Linked DNA regions of Homo sapiens: region 2 is linked to region 1. Evidence: promoter capture Hi-C in human tissues and cell types (Jung and others, 2019). All regions are on one chromosome and are shown on one strand. Each heading gives the region's core, a stretch centred on a gene start or on the middle of the fragment in contact. The rest is flanking DNA. Distances are from core to core; before and after follow the strand shown. Region 1 holds the start of C11orf24 (chromosome 11 open reading frame 24). Region 2 overlaps KMT5B (lysine methyltransferase 5B).

What was found. Contacts are between HindIII fragments. The study calls those that stand out against the background at their distance.
Region 2: a contact is called between a fragment that was not itself captured here and the fragment with the promoter of C11orf24 in region 1, in 1 of the 25 tissues and cell types used here (bladder).

The regions. Positions count from the first base shown.
Region 1 is chr11:68,269,682-68,274,174 of GRCh38, forward strand. C11orf24 (chromosome 11 open reading frame 24) reads right to left here and starts at 2,292. Exons shown (of 4, transcript NM_022338.4): 1 at 2,176-2,292. LOC105369363 (a long non-coding RNA gene) reads left to right here and starts at 2,421. Exons shown (of 3, transcript XR_950248.3): 1 at 2,421-2,495. RefSeq lists silencers at 2,090-2,489, 4,369-4,428 and an enhancer at 2,401-3,255. The HindIII fragment of the contact is 13,528 bases long and covers 1-4,493 here.
Region 2 is chr11:68,205,105-68,210,235 of GRCh38, forward strand. The region is part of intron 1 of KMT5B (lysine methyltransferase 5B); the gene reads right to left. Among named protein-coding and RNA genes, the nearest start is that of KMT5B, 5.6 kb to the right of the region's middle. RefSeq lists a silencer at 1,204-1,293. The HindIII fragment of the contact is 5,675 bases long and covers 106-5,131 here.

The DNA of each region.
Region 1 (4,493 bases), core at 1,042-3,541:
ACACACACGGAGCAGGTCCACAAGGCTATATCAGGACACTCCACGGGTTTCTCAGGAAACTTCTGCTGGATACCATCACCACTTACTCCCTCCCAGCCGGTGGGGCTGGTGGTCACTCCCACAGAAACAGGAATTGGCCACTGTGTAGTCGAGAACAGGCCTTCATTGTCCTATGACTTCATCCCTCTGCTATGGTCCTGCCTCCACTTTCCAACAGAATATTCTAAATGTCAAGATCCCATGCGGGAACCTGTGGTCATCTATGTAAGTTGACTCATGATGGACAAACCATTAACAACATTTAAAATAACAGTTTCCCCTGCAAAGGCTTCAAGCCAAAATTAGGATGTGGGTCTCGGGACCCCACCAGTTATTCTCATTATTATGTGGTACAGGGAGACTGGGTAGATCAGGGTCTCAGACCATAATAGATGGGAAAAAAGAGACCCCAGGGGCAGGAGGGGAATGAGCGAGAGAGAATTAAGTTTGTATTAAGTTGGAGACCAGGGCAGATGGAAAGACGGAAGGTTAGGCTGGCACTGGGAGCTCCCTTCTTCAGGGGTCAGCTCCCCATAGGATCTGCAAGGAAGGTGCAACAGGATACTCCCTTGAGCCATGTGACACTCCATGACAAAGGCACCCCCAACTATGCCCCTGGGTGTCAACCTCCCTATCCTTTTCTGGTTCATGACCTCGAGATGCCTCCCAAGGCATCTTGTCTGAATTCTTGTGTTCCGAACCTTGGCTTGTTATATGTGGCGCACTTTATGCAAGTTACACAAAACTGGACTCCAGGCGTGGTGCTGCATGCCTGTAATCCCAGACACTCAGGAGGCTGAGGTGGGAGGATTACAAGCCCAGAAGTTTGAGTTCAGCCTGGGCAACATAGTGAGACCCCATCTCTTAAAAAAAAAAAAAAAGGGAAAGAAATAACTTAATTCTTTTTTTCTGGCATAGAGAGGTTCCAAAGACCAATCCTGAAGCTTGGTAAAGGACTACAGCTGTTACCCCCACATTCTATCAGGCTATTAAGACTCACTCAGCCGCAACATGGCCAGGCCCCCACACCAAGTTAGGCAAGCTACAGATACCAAGGAGTAGGAACTGCAAACACAAATACAGGGCAAACTGCAGGTACCTAATCCTGACACGTCACCTGGCTGAACTTTGGTAGCAGAAGCCCAAGGAACACAGACTTATGGCTTTGTGTATATAGACATTGTCCTGTAGTCCAAAGGATGTGACTCTGTGGCAGACGGGAACCTAGAACATTGGACATTTATTATATTACATTAACTACCTTGCTTGCTTCCAGGTTTCTGGAAGTTTTGGTAACACAGCTAAATACTAGGGCCTAGTTTTTGCTAAGAACGTGGGTAGCTCTGACATTCCTTTGTCCATTAGGCAGATCCACTGTATAAATGGAAACATCTGTATTTTAAAGATTTTCCTAGCTGATTTTATCGAAATGTTAGAGATTTTCCTGGGGCGAGGGATAGCTGCAAGTTATTACAGTCAGATTTCTAAGCACGATGATTATTTCTGGTGGCAAACCATGCGTGTGGAGGCCGATTCCTCCTATCAGCCTAACGATTAAGTCAACATGCTAAGCAGCCACACGGGGGCTACTAAGTGACTCGCACGGGGGAAGCAGGCAGGGAGACAGATGGGCAGGGGAGGGAATCTGGGGCAATGCACAACCTCCACCCAGGTAGAGAGAGGGTCTGGGGGATAGGTCTGTGTCACTCAAGTAAGAGCGACACTTCTTGGGGTCCAGTCCCGTCCTGGGCTTGCCCGGGAAAGACCCCAGGACAAATTCGGCCCCCTTCCAGAGTGTCCCCATTCTGCTCCCACAATGGGACAAGCCGGCCTCTTCTCCAGTCTGGGCCCCCTTCGGCCCTCCTCCCTCCTCCTGTCTCTTGGGCCCCCAGCCATGCTCGGCCCCCAGTTGACTTCTTCAGTACCTGCATTGCTCAGCGTCTTGCACTCTGTGCGTGCCCCATCCGCCGCTCCTCCTGTCCCGTTCCTCCTGCCTCTCTCAGCCCCACTCACTCTCCCACTGCCCCTCGTGCCCCCATCCAACCCTCCTCCTGCCCCCCAACCTCTGTCTCTCAGTCCCAAGCCAGTCAGGGAGCCCTGACAGCAGCTACCCGGACGGCAGTGCGAGCCCCTTACCCGGGCGCAGCAGGCCCCCGGCGGCCTGGTGGCCCTCGGACAGTAGGAAGGAGCCTGAGGCCCGGCGCGGGGACGTGGCCGGCAGCGCAACCCAGGCAGCTCCGGGCAGCGCGCCCTGCCCGGGCCCCGCCCAAACGCCGGAAATGACGTCACGGAGGGCGGGGCGGGCCTGCTGGCCGGGGCGAAGAGCGGCTGCGGCGGGGCCTGTGGCGAACGGAGGCGAGCCGGAAGTGGGGGGGTTGTCTGCTCTCAGGCCCCGCCTCCCCGGGGCCGGCTCGGGCCACTTCTTGCGCGCTGCCAGAAGGAGCTATTTTGAGCAGGTCTGTGGCGGAAGTGGGTGTTCCCGGGTCTCTGCTGCCCAGCTGTGCCCGCTGCCGTCTTGGGGTCCCGGGGTGCGCGGGTTGGGCTGGGTGAGCTCAGAGGCACCTTGTCGGCAGCCGAGCCTGAAGAGGCGACCTCGAAACGCCTCGTGAGACCTTTCGCGGGCACACGCCCTTCGCGTTCCTCCGCTTCCTCCCACGTTTCTTCAGCCCCTGGCGGGGCGCTGGGGTGCCCGGTAGTTAAGGGTGGGGTGGCAGCGAGCGTTTCTGTGCACCCGCAGCGTGCCACGCCCGTGCTAAGCACTTTGCCTATAGAGCCAGTGGCTTAATTCTGCAATAGCACAGTGAAGAACTTCGCCTCATTTTACAGACGTGGAAACAGGCTCATCAAGTGCTCTGTAATTGTAAAACCTGGGATAACAAAGGAGCAAAACGCAATTTAGAGGCAAGTGTGTGGGACTTGACTTTGGTTAGAAATAGGCTTTGCAGGCCAGGCGCGGTGGCTCTTGCCTGTAATCCTAGCACTTTGGGAGGCCGAGACGGGCGGATTATCTGAGCTCAGGAGTTCGAGACCAGCCTGGGCAACATGGTGAAACCCTGTGTCTACTAAAATACAAAAAATTAGCCGGGCGTGGTGGCGTGCGCCTGTAGTCCCAGCTACTCGGGAGGCTGAGGCAGGAGAATTGCTTGAACCTGGGAGGTGGAGGTTGAAGTGAGCAGAGATCGTGCCACTGCACTCCAGCCTGGGCGACAGAGCGAGACTCTGTCTCCAAAAAAAAAAAAGAAAGAAAGAAATAGGCTTTGCAAGTTAGTAGTTCTGTGACTGAATCCCAGTCTGTATAAGACCCTCAGGCATCCCCCGGTCCAAACCAAAACCTGTCTGCGAAGGATGATTTCACAGGAGCAAACCAAGACTTTATTTCCAGTTTTATAACCTGCCTTGGGGTCTTCGGCTAGGAAGCTAAGAGACACAGAAAGCTGAGATTGGGCAAAGACAGGATCTACCATCCACTCCGAGCTCTGGGAGCACCTGAAATGCGATTTGATGTCACCACCACCATCCCCAGTTCAACCACAGTTCATGTGTGGAATTTAACCTGCAAAGTTGGGTTTGCTGAGACCCAACGCCGGTTGGATCATGTGAAGATCAGATCCTTTCACTATGTATTTGCTTTAATTTTTCCAACTAGTTCGGATCTAACATGAAGTACAGTATTGAGGCTCACTCCAGAAGTGAAAATATACAATCGGCAGGCAGATTTTAGTTCTTTGCCTGCCCTTTTCAAAAATCAATGACTGGGCTGGGCGCGGTGGCTCACGCCTGTAATCCCAACATTTTGGGAGGCCAAGGCGGGCGGATCACCTGAGGTCAGGAGTTTGAGACCAGCCTGACCGATATGGTGAAACCCGTCTCTACTAAAAATATAAAAATTAGCCAGGCGTGGTGGCGTGTGCCTGTATTCCCAGCTACTCGGGAGTCTGAGACAGGAAAATTGCTTGAACTTGGGAGGGGGAGGCTTCAGTGAGCCGAGATCTCACCACTGCACTCCAGCCTGGGCGACAGAGCGAGACTCCTTCTAAAAAAAAAAAAAAAAAAAAAAAAAAAAATCAATGACTGTGACTCTGTTTTCATTTCCTCTTTGGCAACATAGGGACAATTTTTACTGCTGGGGCTGAAATTACAAACATAAGACACAGCCTCTCCTCTAGAGCAGCTGGGCAGCTAGACCTCCATCTGCTTGCTTTTTTTTTTTTTTTTTAGACACGGAGTCTTGCTCTGTCGCCCAGGCTGGAGTGCAGTGGCGCCATCTCGGCTCACTGTAAGCCCCGCCTCACGGGTTCACGCCGTTCTTCTGCCTCAGCCTCCCGAGTAGCTGGGACTACAGGCGCCCGCCACCACGCCCAGCTAATTTTTTGTATTTTTAGTAGAGACGGGGTTTCACCATGTTAGCCAGGATGGTCTTGATCTCCTGACCTAGTGATCCGCCCGCCTTGGAC
Region 2 (5,131 bases), core at 1,693-4,192, 64 kb before region 1:
TTTAAAAGACTGGGCAACAAAGTGAGACCCTCATCTCTACCAAAAAAAAAAACAAAAAAAACAAGTAGCCAGTTGTGCTGCTGCGCAACTTCAGTCCCTGCTACTCAGGAGGCTGAGGCTGAAGGATCATGGGAGTCCAGGAGGTAGAGGCTGCAGTGAGCTATGATCATGCCACTGCACTCCAGCCTGGGTGACAGAGTGAGACCTCACCTTTAAAAACATAAATAAATAAAAAGTTTAAATCATACACTATCCTTCAACTGAAGGTATAAAATGCAGCTACTGAGTTATATAGATTTTGAAAATAGAGCCAGCCTCTTAATTACACCTCTGATTACTCACACACTTGCTAGGCCAGATAACCATGATCTTCCTGAATAGCATTGTAATTGAACATTTTTCTATTTATATTAAAACTTACAATAAAAACTGAAACTATTAGAATTTCTCATTGAGCAAAACATTTTAAGGAGCAAACTATCCACTACTGGTAAGTTTATGATCAGACATTCGCAATTCTTTTTTTTTTTTTTTCAGACGGAGTCTCACTCTGTCCACCAGGCTGGAGTGCAGTGGCATGATCTCAGCTCACTGCAAGCTCCACCTCCCGGGTTCAAGCCATTCTCCTGCCTCAGCCTCCTGAGTACCTGGGACTACAGACACCCGCCACCACAATTAGCTAACTTTTTGTATTTTTAGTACAGACAGGGTTTCACCGTGTTAGGCAGGATGGTCTCAATCTCCTGACCTCGAGATCCACCCACCTCGGCCTCCCAAAGTGCTGGGATTACAGGCGTGAGCCACCGCGCCCGGCCAGACGTTCGCAATTCTTAGACTTACTTATTTGGCTACTGATCTACAGCCAGACATGTAAGAAACTCCTAATTGCCTTATCACAGAAAATACTGCTTCATTCTTAAATATCACATTCAATACGTATTTACGACGAGGGATGTCATGTAAGAAAGACTTCATGTCTTCATCTCAGTAGTTATTTTAAAACAAAGGTTTTCACTGATGGGGTTGTTGAGGGAAAGTCCTCAAAAAAACTTCCAGAAGAAAACAAAAAATGCCTGCTTCCCCCATCTCTCCACATTTGATCCATCTGCTTACCTAGCAGTGCCTAGAAATAAAATCAAGGATGCTTTCTTTGTTACTGTTTTCTCTAGGACTCAAACAGCCATTCACGGTTCTAGAAACAGATGCCACCTAGTGTCAAATGACTGTAAGTACAGCCTTTACAGCCCACAGTTTCTGTCAGAAGTTACAAGAAGTACATCAAAGATTTTTACTGGGCAAGGACAAGTGTGAGGAAAAGCTTCCAAAAGGTGGTTCTTGGGCTGGACGTTAGAGGCCACTTTGAGTTTGCCAGCTGGTGGGCTTTGCAGAGGCAGCCCGCACAGGGATTAAGGATGTGGCTCTGCAGTCAAAGCACCTGTCCCACCCTAGCTTCATCCTTACCCCAGCAGTGTGAGCAGACGAGTTATTTAACTTCACCGATGCCCCACCAGTACAATGAAAAGAAGGCCTCCCTAGGTTTGGCACAAGATATTTTAAATGAGCACAAACTGCTAACAAATTAAGGTCTCCCCTTCCAAGTAACTAAGGCAAAAGTAAAGCAGGCCAGAAACATTCTTCACAAAACTTTAATCAAGTAGAAATTTCCCTTCTATTCCCCACCATAACTCACACATGAAAAAAAAAATCTCATCACCTCACCCATTTAAAAAAGAACAAATGTGCAAAAGAATAATTATGACACAAGGCTGAGCACCAGTTCTGCTTTCCCTACAGTTCCCAAAGAGAAGGAATGTAACTTCTGGCTGCAACACGCATGATTAAAAATCATGCCAAGCAGCAGGGCACAGTGGCTCACGTCTGTAATCCCAGCACTTTGGGAGGCTGAGGCGGGCGGATCACGAGGTCAGGAGATCGAGACCATCCTGGCTAACACGGTGAAACCCCGTCTCCACTAAAAATACAAAAAATTAGCCGGGCATGGTGGCGGCTGAGGCAGGAGAATGGTGTGAACCTGGGAGGCGGAGCTTGCAGTGAGCCAAGATTGCGCCACTGCACTCCAGCCTCGGCGACAGAGCGAGACTCCGTTTCAAAAAAAAAAAAAAAATCATGCCAAGCTACATCTCCCATCCTAAACATTCAGAGGGACCACAGACTGGACTACAGAGCTTCTTACAACACAGTTTAGTTTGTGGTGTACCTGGTCAAACAGATTATTTTCACACCCTATAAAAGAAGATACAAACATCACTGCCCTTTAACACACACTCAATACTATCATCCCCATTTTACAAATGAGAACAAAACTCAGAGAATTAGAAAAAAAACTGAAGTGAAGTCCAGGCTGAGAGACTGTGTACTGTTAATATCACACAAAAAAGCAACACAGGCCAGGCACGGTGGCTCACGCCTGTAATCCCAGCACTTTGGGAGGCCGAGGTGGGCGGATCACGAGGTCAAGAATTCGAGACCAGCCTGGCGAACATAGTGAAAATCCATTTCTACTAAAAATACAAAAATTAGCCAGGCATGGTGGCACCTGCCCGTAGTCCCAGCTACTCGGGAGGCTGAGGCAGGAGAATCGCTTGAACCCAGGAGGCAGAGGTTGTGGTGAACCAAGATCGTGCCACTGCACTCCAGCTTGGGCAACAGAGTGAGACTCCATCTCAAAAAAAAAAAAAAAACAAACCAAAAAACAACACAGAATAATGACCCAAACAAATTTTTTATTTTTTTAGACGCTGTCTCGCTCTATTGCCCAGGCTGGAGTGCAGTGGCACGATCTCTGCTCACTGCAACCTCTGCCTCCCAGGTTCAAGGAATTCTCTGTCTCAGCCTCCCGAGTAGCAGGAATTACAGGTGCCCACCACCACGCCCAGCTAATTTTTGTATTTTCAGTAGAGACAGCGTTTCACCATGTTGGCCAGGATGGTCTTGAACTCCTGACCACGTGATTCACCTGTCTCGGCCTCCCAAAGTGCTGAGGTTACAGGCGTGAGCCATCACGCCTGGCCCCAAACAAATTTTTAAACACACTTCGCCCAAGCCAGGCACGGTGGCTCACGCCTGTAATCCCAGCACTTTAGGAGGCCGAGGCGGGAGGGTCACGAGGTCAGGAGTTCAAGACCAGCCTGGCCAACATGGTGAAACCCCGTCTCTACTAAAAATACAAAAGTTAGCTAGGCGTGGTGGCATGTGGCTGTAATCCCAGCTACTCGGGAGGCTGAGGCAGGAGAATTGCATGAACCGGGACCTGGGAGGTGGAGGTTGCAATGAGCCAAGATCGCGCCACTGCACTCCAGCCTGGGCAACAGAGTGAGACTCTGTCTCCAAACAAACAAACAAAAAAACCACTGTGCCCCATATTTGAAGAGTAAAACTCTAGAGCAAAATAGACATCGTTCCTGACTGCATAGAGGTCAGAGCATACTATGGGAAGAGATGTAAGTAAGTATGTGGTTATCAATCTGATGCGAGCTGTAAGAAAAACAAACAGGATGTTAGGAGAGAGACTAATGTAAGAATGGACTTGAGATGGGATGATCAGGGAAATATAAATCAAAATTGTAAATATAAAAACAAGACCAGACATGGCAGCTCATCCTATAATCCCAGCACTTTGGGAGGCCAAGGCGAGATGATTGCTTGGGCCCAGGAGACTAAGGCTGCAGTGAACTGGGATTATGCCACTGCTCTCCAGCCTGGGAGGCTACAAGACCCTGTCTCAAAAACAAACAAACAAAAAATACCTTTTTTGGGTCAAAAGCCCTCCTGGTACTTATTTATATGCACCAAACAAATATTTGCTTTAAACCCTCCAGGACCCTGAATGACGTCTGGTTTTGTTTCCTTTCCAAGGGGGAAAGTGAAGGGGGGTTTCCTATGGTGCCACTGGCTCACTGGCTGAAGGATCAAGCCCCCTTTTACTTCTCAGTGAGGAAAGCTGCAGCTTCCTAAAATCAGATTGGTTTTCTTACTAAAAATATCTATTTCTCCATATGATGCAACATAAACATTGCCTCGAAAATAAAAATACTCCTCAGAGACCATTAAAATGTATCATACATTTCAACCGTGTTATACAAATCAGACAGGCAAAACAATTCATCGGGCCGACCTAGAATCCACTCAGTTCAACAAACTTATGAAGAACCTCCCAGAGCTGCCAGGCACTGTTCGTGGTGCTGGAATACTGGTCATGTCCAGGGAACACTAGAGGGCGTATGAGAGCTTCTACTTTCAGGAAAATCAGTCGTTGAGTCAGGGAAGAAAACCAAACAGATGCATAAGGGGAAAAAAAGTTAACAGGGTAGAAAAGTACAGACTAGGAAGCAGAATGACCCTTCACTGAATGGGCCTTTTGCGTAAGGCCTGAGAAGCAAGCCGAGTGCCATTAGAGATGTGCTGACCAGGCATTCCTATAAAGGTGGCACAAGGTAGAAACACAGGTGTCACAACACACACATTCGGTTTCTACTGGTTCCCCTAACATGCAGGACTCGGGATTCGCTAGCTCAGCAACCCTATCAGGTGAAACAGGTATTAGCACTACAACAAGGAGGCTAAAGCTCAGAAACAAATTGCTTTCCTAAACTCAAAGTGCTACTAAGTGGTAAGGGTGGGTCTAAAACCTTCATCTTTAAACTGCAGTCTGGGGTTTACTCCAGTGCTTGAGCCACGTGTACCACCTAGAGGTTTATCACCAGCAAATGATCCCCGGATCTAGGTACTGTTTTCTTTCCCCCTTTTTTTTTTTTTTTAAGAGACGGAGTCTTGCTCTGTCGCCCAGGCTGGAGTGCAGTGGAGCCATCTCTGCTCACTGCAACCTCCAACTCCCGGGTTCACACCATTCTCCTGCCTCAACCTCCGGAGTAGCTGGGACTACAGGCTAATTTTTGTATTTTTAGTAGAGACGGGGTTTCACCGTGTTAGCCAAGATGATCTCAATTCCTGACCTCGTGATCCACCCGCCTCGGCCTCCCAAAGTGCTGGGATTACAGGCGTGAGCCACCGTACCCGGCCGGTACTGTTTTCTTTAGTGTGCTATTACAACAGACAAACTAAGACAGCTTATAGAAATGCAACTGGCATTGTAGGAGTCATACAGGCCCCC